Linked DNA regions of Homo sapiens: all the other regions are linked to region 5. The links are contacts of gene promoters, found by promoter capture Hi-C in blood cells and fetal thymus (Javierre and others, 2016). All regions are on one chromosome and are shown on one strand. The core of a region is centred on a gene start or on the middle of the fragment in contact, and the rest is flanking DNA. Distances in the headings are between cores, read along the strand shown. Region 1 holds the start of ZFP30 (ZFP30 zinc finger protein). Region 2 holds the start of ZNF571-AS1 (ZNF571 antisense RNA 1). Region 3 holds the start of ZNF793 (zinc finger protein 793). Region 4 holds the start of ZNF569 (zinc finger protein 569). Region 5 holds the start of ZFP14 (ZFP14 zinc finger protein).

Evidence for each region. The method cuts DNA at HindIII sites, captures the fragments that hold promoters and counts their contacts. A CHiCAGO score of 5 or more calls a contact.
Region 1: a contact is called between the fragment with the promoter of ZFP30 here and the fragment with the promoter of ZFP14 in region 5, in 4 of 17 cell types (naive CD8 T cells, total CD4 T cells, non-activated CD4 T cells and 1 more). The highest score is 7.3, in naive CD8 T cells.
Region 2: a contact is called between the fragment with the promoter of ZNF571-AS1 here and the fragment with the promoter of ZFP14 in region 5, in 5 of 17 cell types (naive CD8 T cells, fetal thymus, total CD4 T cells and 2 more). The highest score is 7.1, in naive CD8 T cells.
Region 3: the fragment with the promoter of ZNF793 here is called in contact with the fragment with the promoter of ZFP14 in region 5 in 5 of 17 cell types (total CD4 T cells, naive CD8 T cells, activated CD4 T cells and 2 more); the score reaches 14.7 in total CD4 T cells.
Region 4: the fragment with the promoter of ZNF569 here is called in contact with the fragment with the promoter of ZFP14 in region 5 in 2 of 17 cell types (naive CD8 T cells and non-activated CD4 T cells); the score reaches 11.3 in naive CD8 T cells.

The regions. Positions count from the first base shown.
Region 1 is chr19:37,654,024-37,656,723 of GRCh38, reverse strand. ZFP30 (ZFP30 zinc finger protein) reads left to right here and starts at 1,259. Exons shown (of 6, transcript NM_001320669.3): 1 at 1,259-1,304; 2 at 1,845-2,012. RefSeq lists enhancers at 654-703, 103-1,090 and a silencer at 1,114-1,303. The HindIII fragment of the contact is 13,390 bases long and covers 1-2,700 here.
Region 2 is chr19:37,547,522-37,550,221 of GRCh38, reverse strand. ZNF571-AS1 (ZNF571 antisense RNA 1) reads right to left here and starts at 1,273. Exons shown (of 6, transcript NR_038248.1): 1 at 1,067-1,273. LOC124904708 reads left to right here. Exons shown (of 2, transcript XR_007067248.1): 1 at 1-2,330. The HindIII fragment of the contact is 14,204 bases long and covers 1-2,700 here.
Region 3 is chr19:37,505,550-37,508,249 of GRCh38, reverse strand. ZNF793 (zinc finger protein 793) reads right to left here and starts at 1,311. Exons shown (of 8, transcript NM_001013659.3): 1 at 1,284-1,311. ZNF793-AS1 (ZNF793 antisense RNA 1) reads left to right here and starts at 1,163. Exons shown (of 3, transcript NR_110723.1): 1 at 1,163-1,411; 2 at 2,210-2,404. RefSeq lists enhancers at 1,095-1,244, 810-1,601, 1,602-2,393. The HindIII fragment of the contact is 7,284 bases long and covers 1-2,170 here.
Region 4 is chr19:37,466,022-37,468,721 of GRCh38, reverse strand. ZNF569 (zinc finger protein 569) reads left to right here and starts at 1,278. Exons shown (of 6, transcript NM_152484.3): 1 at 1,278-1,638. It also overlaps a transcript of ZNF570 not described here. RefSeq lists an enhancer at 1,408-1,457. The HindIII fragment of the contact is 12,295 bases long and covers 1-2,700 here.
Region 5 is chr19:36,377,830-36,380,529 of GRCh38, reverse strand. ZFP14 (ZFP14 zinc finger protein) reads left to right here and starts at 1,329. Exons shown (of 5, transcript NM_020917.3): 1 at 1,329-1,367. RefSeq lists a silencer at 1,133-1,222. The HindIII fragment of the contact is 12,200 bases long and covers 1-2,700 here.

The DNA.
Region 1 (2,700 bases), core at 10-2,509, 1.3 Mb before region 5:
GCTTGGAGACATTGAATTTATCCAAGAGTTCATCCAGGAACAAAGGGGAAAAAACAAATCTCATTTGTTAGAATATTCCAAGACCAGGTATGGAAGAAAATAAAATGCCTCTCCCTCCCGTTTCATGGTGTCCTATTCAATTTTCTGACACAGTCCTACAATTCCATCATTTGGAAGTAATAGCAACCTTATTCCTTTCCAATTTTTTTTCCTGCAATTATTTTACTTGCCTAACACCACAGTCCTGAGGGCACACAAGGGCCAGATGCAGATAATCAAAATCCCAACACTCAGTTTCATAGGGACCCACAAACCGTCTCCATGGAAAACCAGAACCAGAAGCGCTGCCCTATCAGAAGGATTCTGGAAATAACGCTGGATGAGGCAGAGCCACAGTCACAGATCCGATGTCAGGTACGTCACAAACGCAGACACAAACCGCAAAGACCCCAGAGACCCGCTACAGCCAGCGTCAGAGTCAGGCACCACCGCGCAGCCTTCTCTGCGGCACCATCCTAATCCCCCGCTAGAGAACGGCACACGCGCACGCAGCAGCCCCGTGCACGGAAACACTACTCCGCCAGCGGCCAGGCACTCGGTCCAGGTACGCGGGGGCGCGGCGGCCGTCACTCAGCAAACACCACAGGCAGCACGCGCCGCGCCTTGGTCCAGGCTCGCGATACTGGGGTTTCCTCCATCCAACTCACGCCAGGGTCACGGCTACAGGCCTAGATTTGAACACTCCATCCCCATCGGGATCCTGTAGCCAACCTCCACCCTCCTCCAAACCTCCCGACCCCTCGGCAGGTGCGGCCCCACACTTCTCCCTTGCTCCCTGAAGGGCCCCAGCGTTCGCCCCCCGCGCGCTTGCGCACTCGAGGCAGAAGCCGATTTCCAAAGGTTCCGGTGAGGCGTCGCTGGGGGCGGGGCGGGGCTCGCAGCCTCCGCCTGTCTCCGAGCCGAGAACCAAATGAAAAATAAAAAGGCGGAATATTGTTTTTTTAAATTTTGGACCGCAGTGTCCACAGGGGAGCAGGCCTGGATTATCTTTAATGGCACTGGTCAGTCACGGGGCGGCCATTACAGGTAGAGGCCTGAGGCGAGGGACACTGCGGCCCCTCTGGCTCCGTCTCCCCGGCCCGACTATCCCCGCCGAGACCCGGCCCCACGCGCCCCTCCCGGCCCGGAGCAGCTGCGGGACTTGCCTCCGCCCCCCCGCGCGCTAGCGCATTCGCGACGGAGACAGGCGCTCTCCCGTATTCTGGCGCCGCTGACTCCCAGGGCTGGGCTATCCTCTGAGTCGGGTGAGGCTGGGGCTGGGAGCCGGGCGCCACTGTGGCCGCTGCTTTTCTGAGGGAAAAGAGCGCGGAGTGGGCCAGGTTTTGCAGGCCGGGCCAAGGTGGAGAAAAGGTTCCTGTGGAGCCTCAGGCCGGTGTGCTTTTTTTCCCGGGACTGAGCTTCTGCAGCCCTGAGGCCTGGAGGCCCGGGCGGTAGTAACTGTGCCGGACCAGGTTCGTGGGTGCGGCCTGTGGTGCAGTTGGAGACCGAGGCCCCGCGCATCCTCGTCCGCGCTTCAGCCACTTAGGCTCGGCCGTAGCGAAAAGGCCCAAGAGGGAAGTCAGAGGTGAACGCCCCAGGATGAAGGTCCCCTGCAAAACGCTGGGACCTAGATTTGGGGTGGGTGTCTGGGGTCTAGGAGGACACGCTGGACAGTTCCGAAAAGACACAGTGGGTGGTCCCGGGCGTGGGCAACCGGGTGCGGAACTACAGCGTACCCGGAGCTGCGAACCCAGACGCGGGTGACTGCTGACCCTCTGCCCTGTCGTTTCCATTTGTGCATGCAGGTGGCGGTTAGTTGGGGCCAGGGAAGCGTGGAGGGTGGGTTCCAATCGAGTCAAGAAAAGCCTGGGGTGTCCTGAACTCTGCCTGCTTCCCCAGCCCTGCCAGTTTCCAGAGAAGGCGCTTGAGAAGGAGAAACGAATCGCTGCTGCTCTTCTAAAAGCCGGTTCCCTGTGAGTTCGTGCTGCTGCTTTGTTTCTGTGAAATGCATTCGAGTTCCTTCCGTTTAAAATCCTGCTTAGGAATGATCTATTTATTCATTGATTTGGGCCTTAGGATTTCCCTACCTAGTTAACGGCAGGGGACCTAATTAATAGATTTCCCGTTGTTAGTGCCCACTTCATGCTGTTCTATAGTTAGACACATGGTTAGTTAACTGTAGGCTGCAAATTCAATTACTCTGTGAGCGCTGTTTTTCTAAGGATCTTGATGATATGGAAATACCCGTGCTGGAGATTAATGTTCATACTTTGTTTTTATTTGTTTTTTAGGGTTTAGATATGTTTAATGGTTCTGGGGTAGGAGTGGAGATTTCTTTTTTTCCAGGAAATTCATGAGTGGAAGTTTTTGGTACCAGCCAGATGTGGTTTGAGGTCTGGCAGCATGAGTTTATTTTGGGTATATCTTGGATCGACTGAGGGAGGTGTAGTGTAGTGGTTAAGAATTTCGAGCCTAGATTAAGTGGAATTGAATCCTGACTGCCACTTAAATCTGAACGAGTTTAAGCAATCTGTGCTTCAATTTCCTCAGAATTGTAATAGTGTATACTTTACGGTGTTGTTTTGAAGATTACATGAATTAATATTTGTGAAGCTCTTAGGAGAGTGCCTGGCACATAGTGAGTCCTTAATTCATACTAGC
Region 2 (2,700 bases), core at 24-2,523, 1.2 Mb before region 5:
AGAAATGTGAGTGTTGAGAAGGAAACACTCATCACCTACGTCCCCGCCAAGGTGGTCCTGGACGAACTGGGAAACATTTGCTGTGAAGGACGTTCTGGAGGACTGTGAGCCAGACCAAGGAAAACCTGGGCCGACGAGAATCAGGGAAGGCAAGAAAAGAGGGAGAACAGAGTAGAGGCCGCAGCCCAGGCAGGATCAATCCATCCCACTCCCATGTGCCTCGGGGAACCAGGGTCCAACAGGGGACCTGGCCAGAAAGGCGACAGTCTTCGGTCCAAAGGTTCTCCGAACACTCGTGTCTTCTATCGCCAGCACAGCGCCATGGTGTGGACAGGTTGTACAGTGAAGAGGAAAAGGGGATGGCGTTGGAAACAGTTTCTTTGACATCTGTCTGCACCTGTTCTGCAGGTGAAGGTGCGAGACCTCCTCCACACCTCAGCGGATTGTATCTTCACCCCCATCTGACCTTTTTTCTGCACACATCCTTTAATCCAGAATGAAATCTGAAGAGGATGAAGGAGTGCCCGCCTCAGGTCCTGAAGCTGCGACTCCGCCAGCCACCGAATTAGAAGTGGGCTCAAGGGGGTACTGAGGACAGGACAGCTAGGGTCCGTCCAGCCTTGGGTGTGCCGCAGGACCATGGGCCCCTGGAGGAATTTGTTCTTGGTTGTCGTGTGCTGGTCTTCTTTCTGGAAGAGTGGGCGGCTTGGGAGGGGAGGTGATTTGGACGTTTGCGGGTCGCAGCCAGCCCCCCACTTCACCGAGGCTTTAGGAACCAAGAGCGAAACAAAGAACGCTTGCCCCGCAACCCAAGCCCGGCCAAAGAGACGGGCGCATCAGAGCGTAGGCGAACTACAGAGAAACCGCGCTTCACTGCACGAGCCACATTTCTTTCACCGCACACCACACACACACTCACACGCACACACAGAAAGACACACGGAAACATCCAACAGTCGCACAGAAACACACACAGCCAGGCAGCTCCTGAGGCTGCGCGGTTCTGCTCTCTGCCAGGAAACCCCTCCGGAAAGAGAGCGCCCCGGGGAACACAGGCAGGCCGTACCTCGAAATCCCAGCGGGGACACCTGTCAGGGAGACGCACCCTCACACCGCCCATGCATGCCCGACGCATCTTTGGGATCCTTAGGGATCACGTGGTGCTTCCTTGAATCTCCGCTTGAGGTTTCTTCAGGCAGGTTCGGCCTTGCCCGACTCCTAGGATCGCAGGACCATGGCGACGATCCCGCGGAGAGGGGACGCACTGCCACAGACGCCTGGGGGCCAAGCCGCTGGGGCCAGTCCCCCGGCAACGGTGGCGGTTACTGTGACGCGAGTCCCCCCTCAGCGCTAGCGCCTGGTGATCGCGCCTGGTACGTGCACTTTCGCGTTCCCGGTTTGTGGGCCGCATTGTCAGGGCTCTCAGGCTGCAGCCCAATAGGAAAACAGTGGAGGCCGTGCAGGCGGCGGTTCGGGGAAGGAGACTGCATGCGACAAGCAGCGCAGGACCCTGACTGTCGTGACCTCAGTGCCTCCTTGAGCCGACCTCGTGTTTGGGTCCGGGTGTAGGAGGAGGTGCTTCAGACCGTGAGGTGGGCACTCGGGATTGCTCTTCTGATTTGATTCTGGACTGGAATCAAATTGGAATTGACCCGGAATTGGGTCCCACGGGGCTGGGGAACCAATCTGGTGAGGTGTGGAGGGGTCGCTGGTGCACAGAAACATACCGGATACCCTCGGGGTGGGTGTCAGCAGAACATTCCTCGGCTCCATGAGCTGACTGCCTCCCTTTGATCTGGGCCTCCCAGGGCTCTTCCTGCGTCTCCAAGCTCAGGGGCTCCTGCTTCTCAGCACTGCTGTCTGGAAAAGGCGGGAACGAGGACTAAGGCAAGCCCAGTGTGGGGCAGAGATGGCAACACCTGGAACTAGCTTTTCATGGGGGCAGATAATGTGGAGAGTGTCCCAATTACATCTCCCTTTATTCTATCCCATACTACTAAACCCCACCAGCTATTTGCCTACAAACTGTGTATCAGTCAGGACATCAGGACACCAAGATAAAGGACTAGAGTTTGGTAATCAACTACTGGCTCCTCCAGCAGCTCAGAATGTGGCCTGTATGCATCACTTCACTTAATTCATTCAAGAAATGCTGACTGAGTTCCTGCTGTGTGTTGGACACTTTCTTAGAAGTGGGACACACTGCAGTGTGTGGGACAAAGGCTGGGCCGCTCATTGCTTATGTTCTAGTTGAAGAGAGAGTCAATCAACAACATTCTACTTTCAGACATTGATAAATGCTGTCATGAAAAGACAAGGAACATGAAAAGGTAAGAAAAGGGATGGAGAGAGATGGGATGAGGGGTGCCTGGGCAGACAATGCAATGATCTGGCAAAAGAGTAGGACAATCATGAGACTGCATGTGTTCCAGTTTCTGCTGCTGTAAAACAGCATCCACAGGTTACATCTTTACTATTCTGTTACATACATACTATTATTTAAATAAAAAATAGTACTAGTTAACTGTGAAAATTGCAATTAATAGGGCAGATTAAACAAATCCTTTAAATTTAAACAAATGTTTTATGGTTTTTTATCCTCTGATACATTGTTTCAACTTTAAAAAACCCTCTTTATTTGATATTTAAACTCTATATTAATGTATATTCTTAAGATACATAAATTTAAGATTTTTTTCG
Region 3 (2,700 bases), core at 62-2,561, 1.1 Mb before region 5:
AGGAAAAAATATGCATTAGATCCCTAACAAGAATAGAAGCCACGTCTTTAGTAACATGTTACTTTAGATAAGTTTAGCACGCGATCCTTTCAAATTATTTTCATTATTGTAGAGAACAATAAAAAGGGTGTGGGTTCAAAAAAGAGTTTTCAGATGGGCCTTGGTGGAGAGGAACTGGCTGCTATTCAGCTAGGGAGTGTCACCTGAGTGAAATGTGTTCCCGCTATGCAGGCTTGCAGCCTCAAATCTGTGATTTTCCCATCCCCAATCTCCACATTTCAGGACCCTCAACACCAACCCCTATAAGTCTCCTAATCAGACACGCATAGTGCCCCCAATCACTGGCCTCCAATCTCCAACCCTCAGAGGTTTTCATAGTCACTGATATTCCCCTATGTTCAAATCTGACCAGGAGAGACTACAGGTCAGTAACTACAAAGAACACCGATCCGATCTGATTGCCAGTGAAATTACACAGCCCCCAATCATGAATCCACACTGATTGCCAATGATATCCCAACGACTGAGGATCAATTGTTGATTCTCACAGTCCCACTCCCACCCACAAGTGACAGTCCGAATCACTGAGCCTCATTGAGGCGTACCTTTAAGATAAGCACACTTGACTCTATTCTCCATTCCCTGATCTACAAAAGTCCAATCGTTAATACTCTCCGATCCTCCACCGATGATATGAAGTAAGTCTCAATCACCGATGGCCCAAAACATTTCTCCAAACATTCATCACCACTGACCTCCCTCATTTGAACCCCAAAGTTTCCACAATCACCAATTCCAGTACCCAAACTATTACTGCCCACAGAACTTAGAACCTCCGATCACTGATCCTCTCGGGCTCCGATCATTAACCTTAAAGATCTCTAAACCAGTGTCTGAAAAATCCCAACTGACCCCAGACCCATGAAGACCACTATTACTGACCCCATGCACCCTGAAAATCAAGACATTTCACAGAACTCGCATTTATTGATTCCCACACACTCCCAATCCATCTTCTTCAGAGACCGTGCCACTGACTCCCGCAAACCTCTGTCCGCCACCACTGAGGCCCCGCGAGGCTCAGACGCCGAATCTCTTAACCCTTCAGTTCCCTTGTCATTGACCCTCACGGGCACCCATAGCTGACCCAGTCGGCCACCGTAGTCGGCAGCTCACTATCCTCCACTAGTCCCAGGTTTGACCGTTTCTCAAACCGTGCCTTCCCATTTATGCTGCATCCGCGCCCTGAATCTGAAATTGGTCGTCCTGCCACGCCGCCTCACCGCGGTATAAGGTCGTCCCATCCTGAATGGCCGGTGCGCAGACTCAATTGCGACTTTGAGGCTGTCAGCCGCCACCCGGCAACCTTCCAGTGAACAGGATTCTGGGTTTCTCAAAGCTGTAATTGGAGGTATGATGGCGACGCCCACTTGACTCCTACCTGGGGCGGCCATGTTTAAAACTGTGCCGTAAAACGGATGATTAAGCCCTTTGCTAGACCAAAAGATAAGGCTATTTTAGGACAAGGAGAAGGAAGTGTCCCTGGATCCCTAAACAGAGATGTCGTCTCTGCTCTTAACTCAGCATCTCAGATGCCAAAACCTCCTGTGGCCAACATGGTGGCGCCCAGACATCAAAGCTGAGCTTTCTTTGTCTCCGGCAGCCTGGTAAGATGGCCGCGTACATTTTTACCGCTTCTTACGTGCAATGGGTGCAGCCTCTCCTAGGAGCTCCCCTATGGCAATGTGAAACTCTTTCTGAGCCAGCTCTAGGAGTTAGAGAGCAGCGAAGAGACTCGCTCTTAGGGAGACAGAGACAGCCTAAGGACGGGCGTGACTTCACGGAAAGGGCGGAGCCGCAAGGAAAGGGCGGGGCTGCCGCAGCGGGAAGAGATCAGAGTTCTTAGCGCATAATGGAAAGGAAATGTTGAAAGCAAGGTTTTTACCTAAGGAGGCTTGCCCGAGAAGCCGACCTGAGGAAAGAATGAGTGCAAGCAGTTTATTTGGTAGGTGGGGGATGGAGAAGTGAGACGGGAGCGATGGGAACGAATATACAGTGCATAGGTGAGCAGATTAGCTCTGGATCAATGAGGGCTCAGTCAGCTTGGGACCTCTGGGGGATTGTGTAGAAACCACTTCCAAGTTTTCACAACCACCAGGCCGATGAAGCTTACATATGTCTACACCATCTCTCTTCCTAATTGTTTTAGGGCCACTCCAGAGGTGTTAAAGCTCCAGCACTTCGAGCCTGCCTCGTGGGAAAGTCTTAGGCTGAGTCTGTAGGTGTCTGCAGTTAAGAAGCCAGCGGTCTGCATATGATTGCTCAGGGGTGGTGGCTGGGTCCAACAGCATTCACTACAGGCCTGCCTTGAATACCACCTAGCGCAGTGCTCCGCATATCACAGGTATTGGAACATCTCTAGAAAAGATTGCCTTGTCTTATGAAAATGGCTTTTTAAAAAAATCCTAATTCCAACTGGTCATCCTAGCAACTGATACAATAACTGACCTCAAAATGTTTCCCAATGATTCCTACCTCCTACTATTCACACTCTTATGTAGTTCCCTCCCACATTGTACCAGGGTTGGACTGTGAGACTAATAGAATGCAGTAGCAGTGATAGATGTCACTGCTGAGATTAAATATAATAAATGGCACCTTGAGTTCTGTCTTAAAGGCTGCTGCCCCCACTTTGAGAGA
Region 4 (2,700 bases), core at 29-2,528, 1.1 Mb before region 5:
AGCCTGACCAACATGGTGAAACCCCGTCTCTACTAAAAATACAAAAAAATTAGCCGGGCGTGGTGGCACGCGCCTTAAGTCCCAGCTACTCAGGAGGCTGAGGCAGAAAAATTGCCTGAACCTGGGAGGCGAAAGGAGGCGGAGGTTGCAGTGAGCCGAGATCGCGCCACTGCACTCCAGCCTGAGCGACAGAGCAAGACTCCGTCTTAAAAAACAAACAAACAAAAACCTCGTGACCTCAAATGATCCGTGCGCTTTGCCCACCCAAAGTGCTGGGATCACAGGCGTGAGCCACCGCGTCCGGCCTATTATCTCTTTATTAAAGGTATTAAGACCGGCCCCGTGCGGCTCATGCCTGTAATCCTAGCACTTTTTGAGGCCCAGGCGGGAGGATCGCTTGAGCTCAGGAGTTCGAGAGCAGCCTGGGCAACATAGCGAGACCTTATCTCTACTAACAAACAAACAAAAATCAGCCGGGCGGAGTGTCCCTTGATTGTGGTCCCAGTTACTCGGAAGGCCGAGGCAGAGAATCGCTTGAGCCCGGGAGTTCGAGGCTGCAGTGAGCCAACATCGCGCCGCTGCACTCTCCAGCCTGGGCAACAAAGTGAGGCTCTGCCTCAAAAAAAACAAAACAAACAAAAAAAAAAAAACACGAAAGGCATAGAGAAGTTAAGTACCTAGTCTGAGATGACACAGCTAGTAAGGCCAAGTCTGTTTAGAAGTCAGGCGGTCTGGCCACACTACTTTTCGCTCACGATCCCGGGTCATGAAATCCAATAACACTGTCACACTCACAATCGAGAAGTCCAGAAAGAACAAATACATGCACATTGTCTCTGACAAAACTGCAAGGTCAGAATCAAACAGCCACGAGAATATAAAACGCGACCATGGTCACACAAAAGGTCGCATATTCGCACGACCTCAGATGTCACTGGACAGGGTCTCTCGCCCTGGAAACCCCACTCCAAATTCCATGGCCGAAGTTTCACACATACAGTCACACTACGTCACTCCTCCCTCTTCTAGCCGCTGTCAGGACCTTAAGGCTCCAGCTGACCCGGCCTTCACTGGCCCTGGAGCTCTCACCACCTTCACCCCGCTGTATTCTAGCCTCAGGTAGAGACCCAAAAAGACGGAACTAAACACACTGAGCCGGGCTTCCTTCACGGACCTTGCGAACCTGCAGCTCCAGCCGACTGTAAGAAGGAAGTGCCTTTTTGCAGGTGGGGTCGGGGAAGTAGGGCCGCGAAGGCCTCTGGGAAATGTAGTTCGGCGCAGGAAGCAGCGGAACGATTCGATTCTTCTCAGCACCAAGTTGCGCTCCCAATCTCTCAGAGCTGGGCTCGCGGGAGGCCGCTCGTGCAAAACCTAGGCTGAGCTCCCCTGCGCGGAGCTGTGAGCCCTGGAACACCGTGGTCTGCTTCTCAGGACGCGCAAACAGTGAAGCCAGTCCCGCCCGGGTGAGCCGCGGGGGCCTCTGGGAAGCGTCGCCCCTGGTGTAACGGACCGAGACTTGTGGCGCTCTCAGCCACCGACAGCGCCGGCCTCAGTGCCGCCTCTGTCCCAGCCCGCGCCGGCTCTGCCACTTTGGCAGCGTTAAGTGTGGAATCGGGGCCTGTGTCCGCGGGCTTGGTGGTGAGTCCTCGGGAAACCGCTAGCTCTGAGCGCCGGACTCTTTGTGCTGGGTGGGAGTGGGGGCCCGCGGTCCTGGTGCCCCAATCTTTGGAGGAGGACGCCGGGCGGGGCGATGCCTGTGCTTGTGGTTCCCTGAGGCAGTGGGAGTGGCGTGTGAAGGACTGTGAGAGTCTGGCGTGAAGTGACTGTCATTTGCCAGACATTCGTCTGGCTGAGTGTGGCCCCGGGATCGTGTCCGTAAGCGGATTTCGTGGAGGCGCTTTCCCTTTTATCTTTCAGTATGAACCTGCGTGCAAACGTGCATGACAGTGGGATCTTGAATGAATGAAAAACTGTGGATACAAGGTAGGGTGTGCTTGTGGGTGTAGATGTGTGAGACTTGGCGTTTGTGCCAGCGCTGCATGTCTTTAGCTTTGGTCATTGGAAATACGTTGTTTTTTTGTTTTTGTTTTTGAGATGGAGTTTCGCTCTCGTTGCCCAGGCTGCTGGAGGGCAATGGCGCGATCTTGGCTCACCGCAACCTCCGCCTCCTGGGAAGAAGCAATTCTCCTCCCTCAGCCTCCCGAGTAGCTGGGATTACAGGCGCACCACCACGCCTGGCTAATTTTGTATTTTTAGTAGAGACGGGGTTTCTCCATGTGGGTCAGGCTGGTCTCGAACAACTGACCGCAGGTGATCCACCCGCCTCGTTCTCCCAAAGTGCTGAGATTACAGTCGTAAGCCACCGCGCCCGGCCGGAAATATGTTTTTATATGAAACATCGATATCCCCAACACTTTAATATTTATTTATTTTTAATTTTATTTTCGTGTATTAGCTACGTTGTTTTGTGTACTTACTAAACTCATTCTCCTCCTTCCCTACTCCACCCCATTTGGGGAGTGGAGTGGGGTGGAGAAAAATACAGAAAAGCTCGAAGAACAAAAATCATTCATAGTTCTACAGGCCATGCAACTACTGTCAAAATTTACTTTCCATCTTTTCACCCCCGCCTTTGTGTATACATACGTATACATTCATATGTTCTATATGTGTGCATAATGGCTTCAAAATTGCAGTAAC
Region 5 (2,700 bases), core at 80-2,579:
CTCAGGTGATCCACCCGCCTCGGCCCCCCGAAAGTGATGGGATTATAGGCGTCAGCCACCGCGTCTGGCCACCTTCTTAGTAGTTATAAAGTAGCTCAGATTTTTCATTTATCTCCTATTTCATGCATATCCTATTGTTTGCAAAATGAAACCAGATTGCCGAGGCATTTTCAAATATCTTCTAAAGTTTTATATTCTTAAGGAAAGAACAAATTCTTTCATGTATTAACTAATATATCAAAGAATTTGGGATACAGAAGATGCCTCAGGGTGGTCCCTGGTGGGCTTATCCCATTTCTTTCCTGAAGGAACGCAGGACAGGACAAATTCAGTCTCATTGGAGACAGACCTCTCCAGTTAGTCTTTTTCTTTTGAAACGGAGTTTCGCTCTTGTTGCCCAAGCTGGGGTGCAATGGCGGATCTCAGCTCAATGCAACCTCCGCTTCCCGGGTTCAAGCGATTTTCCTGCCTCAGCCTCCTGAGTAGCTGGGATTACAGGCGCGCGCGACCACGCCCGGCTAATTTTTTGTATTTTTAGTAGAACAATACATTCACAACTGCAGGAGATACGAGACACACACACACACACACACACACACACACACACACACACACACAGAGACAGAGACAGAGTGGGAGAAAGGGAGAGGGCAGTGAGCACGAGCGACCTTTCTAGGTTTACGTCCTGCTCCAGGTTCTGGTGGGCTTTGAGAGTATTTTCATTGCATGCCTGATGTGTGCCCACACCTTGCTTGGGTGTATGCAGTGAGTAACTGGTAGGTGTTTAGTACACATATTAGGCATCTGCTGGTGCCAAAACTTCTTTCTAAATCCTCCGCGGCTGAGCCTGGTGGCTCACGCCTGTAGTCCCAGCACTTTGGGAGGCTCAGGCGGGAGGATCTTTTAAGCCCAGGAGTTCGACACCGGCTTGGGTAACATAGGGAGATCTGGTCTCTATAAAAACTTAAAAAATGAGTTGGGCGTGGTGGCGCGCGCCTGCAGTCCCAGCTACTCTGGAGGCTCGGGTGGGAGGGTCGCTTGAGCCCGGGAGGTCGCGGCTGCAGTGAGCTCTAATCACGCCACTGCACTCCAGCCTGGGCGACAGAGTAAGACCCTGTCTCAAGAAAATAAACAAATAAAAGTCTTCCTCAGCGACAAAAGCAAACGCAAGCCCGAGCTCGCCTCAGCCCCACGCAGCGCGGAGGGCCTTCCCGCCCCGAGCGCACCCGGGGCTCCGGCCCCCGCGCATGCGCACTCCGCGCAGCCCGTTGGGGCTGGAACCAGTCCCTCCCATCGGCGGACTACATTTCCCACAGGCCTCCGCTCGCAGTTCTTTCCGGCTTCGCTGCTGGTGTCGGCTCCGAGAGGTGAGTTGGTCGCTTGCACCGAGGCAATGGGCGCGGGGGTGGCGCGGGGGCGGCGCAGACCTCAGTGTGAGCCAGGAGGCAGTAGCTGTGGAGTTTGTGGCGCTGACTGGGCGCCGGGTGCCCTGTTGCGTCCTCTGCCTTCTCGCTTCAGAGCCGCCCAGGTCCAGCGGCCCGGAATGGCTCCGAGTTAGATACAGGAACCCCGGAGTGAATGAAGGCCCCCAAACAAAAAGACGCAGTCTGAAGAACTGCAGATTGCACAGCTTTACCCGAGCTCCCTCCCATGGAAACTGCGGGGAACTCGGAGACAGATCCCAGCCCCGTCTTCGTGTACCTGGCCTTTCGCTCTGATACGGGAAAGGGTCAGCTTTATTCCAGGCTCCCTGTTATTTCCATCGGGTTTTGCGCGCAGTAGACGGAGGGAGCAAGTGCGCTAGCGGGGGTGTGTCCTGCTCAGCCAAGGCCGGCTCCAGGAAAGGCCCGCGGTCTCAAGATTCCCGTCTCCTTTCCCAATCCTGCTGTTCTTTAGGAAGGCAGCGGGGAGAGGAGGAAATGATTGCTGTTGCATATAGACAAGTCAACATCCAGATGAGTTTGTGTTTCCGTTTTGTTCCATGAAGTGTAATTTTTATTTTTTCTGGGCGTGGGGGCATTTGCTTTCCTCTTCTGTGGAATGAAAATCAGCTCGGACTGAACAATGAAGCAGCTCTGTCATTAATCAGGCTAGGAAGGAAGAGACAGATAAAGCCAGTTGCAAAATTAATAGAAAACATGATTTCTCCCCAGGTGGTGCAGTAGTTGTAAAATGGCATAATGACTCCCTCTTTGAGAGATTACAGTTTTCTTACCAGTGATGTTCTAGACTTGCTTTGCTGTTTTCATTTTATTACTGGGGATACCCTCTTGATTACACTCATGATTGCATTCAATATCTCATTAATCCCTGCCTCTCCTAATCTCACCTCGGAAACAGCAGCCATTCCAGATTGCAGCTGTCATTAGATCCTCCTTAGAATCTTTCAGCTGGAACTCAACCGTTTACGAAAGAGCTTTTCTCGTCTCTCTCGTCCATTCTATTCCAACCCTTCCTGTGGAATTTTCTCCCTTTCTGCCAGTCAATAGATATGATTTTGTCAGACTATGCGGGCTTGTTCCAGTTAATCTTCAGCTAGTTAGACTTTAACCCCTGAAATGTCCTGTCCACTGACCTGGTGCTTTGGCCTTCCTTCCCAGTGAATGATGGGGTGATGAAGGTAGATTCCAATTCCTACCCCTTTCCAGTAGGTTTGTTTTGTTTTGTTTTTTTTTGTATTTTTTGAGATGGAGTCTGGGT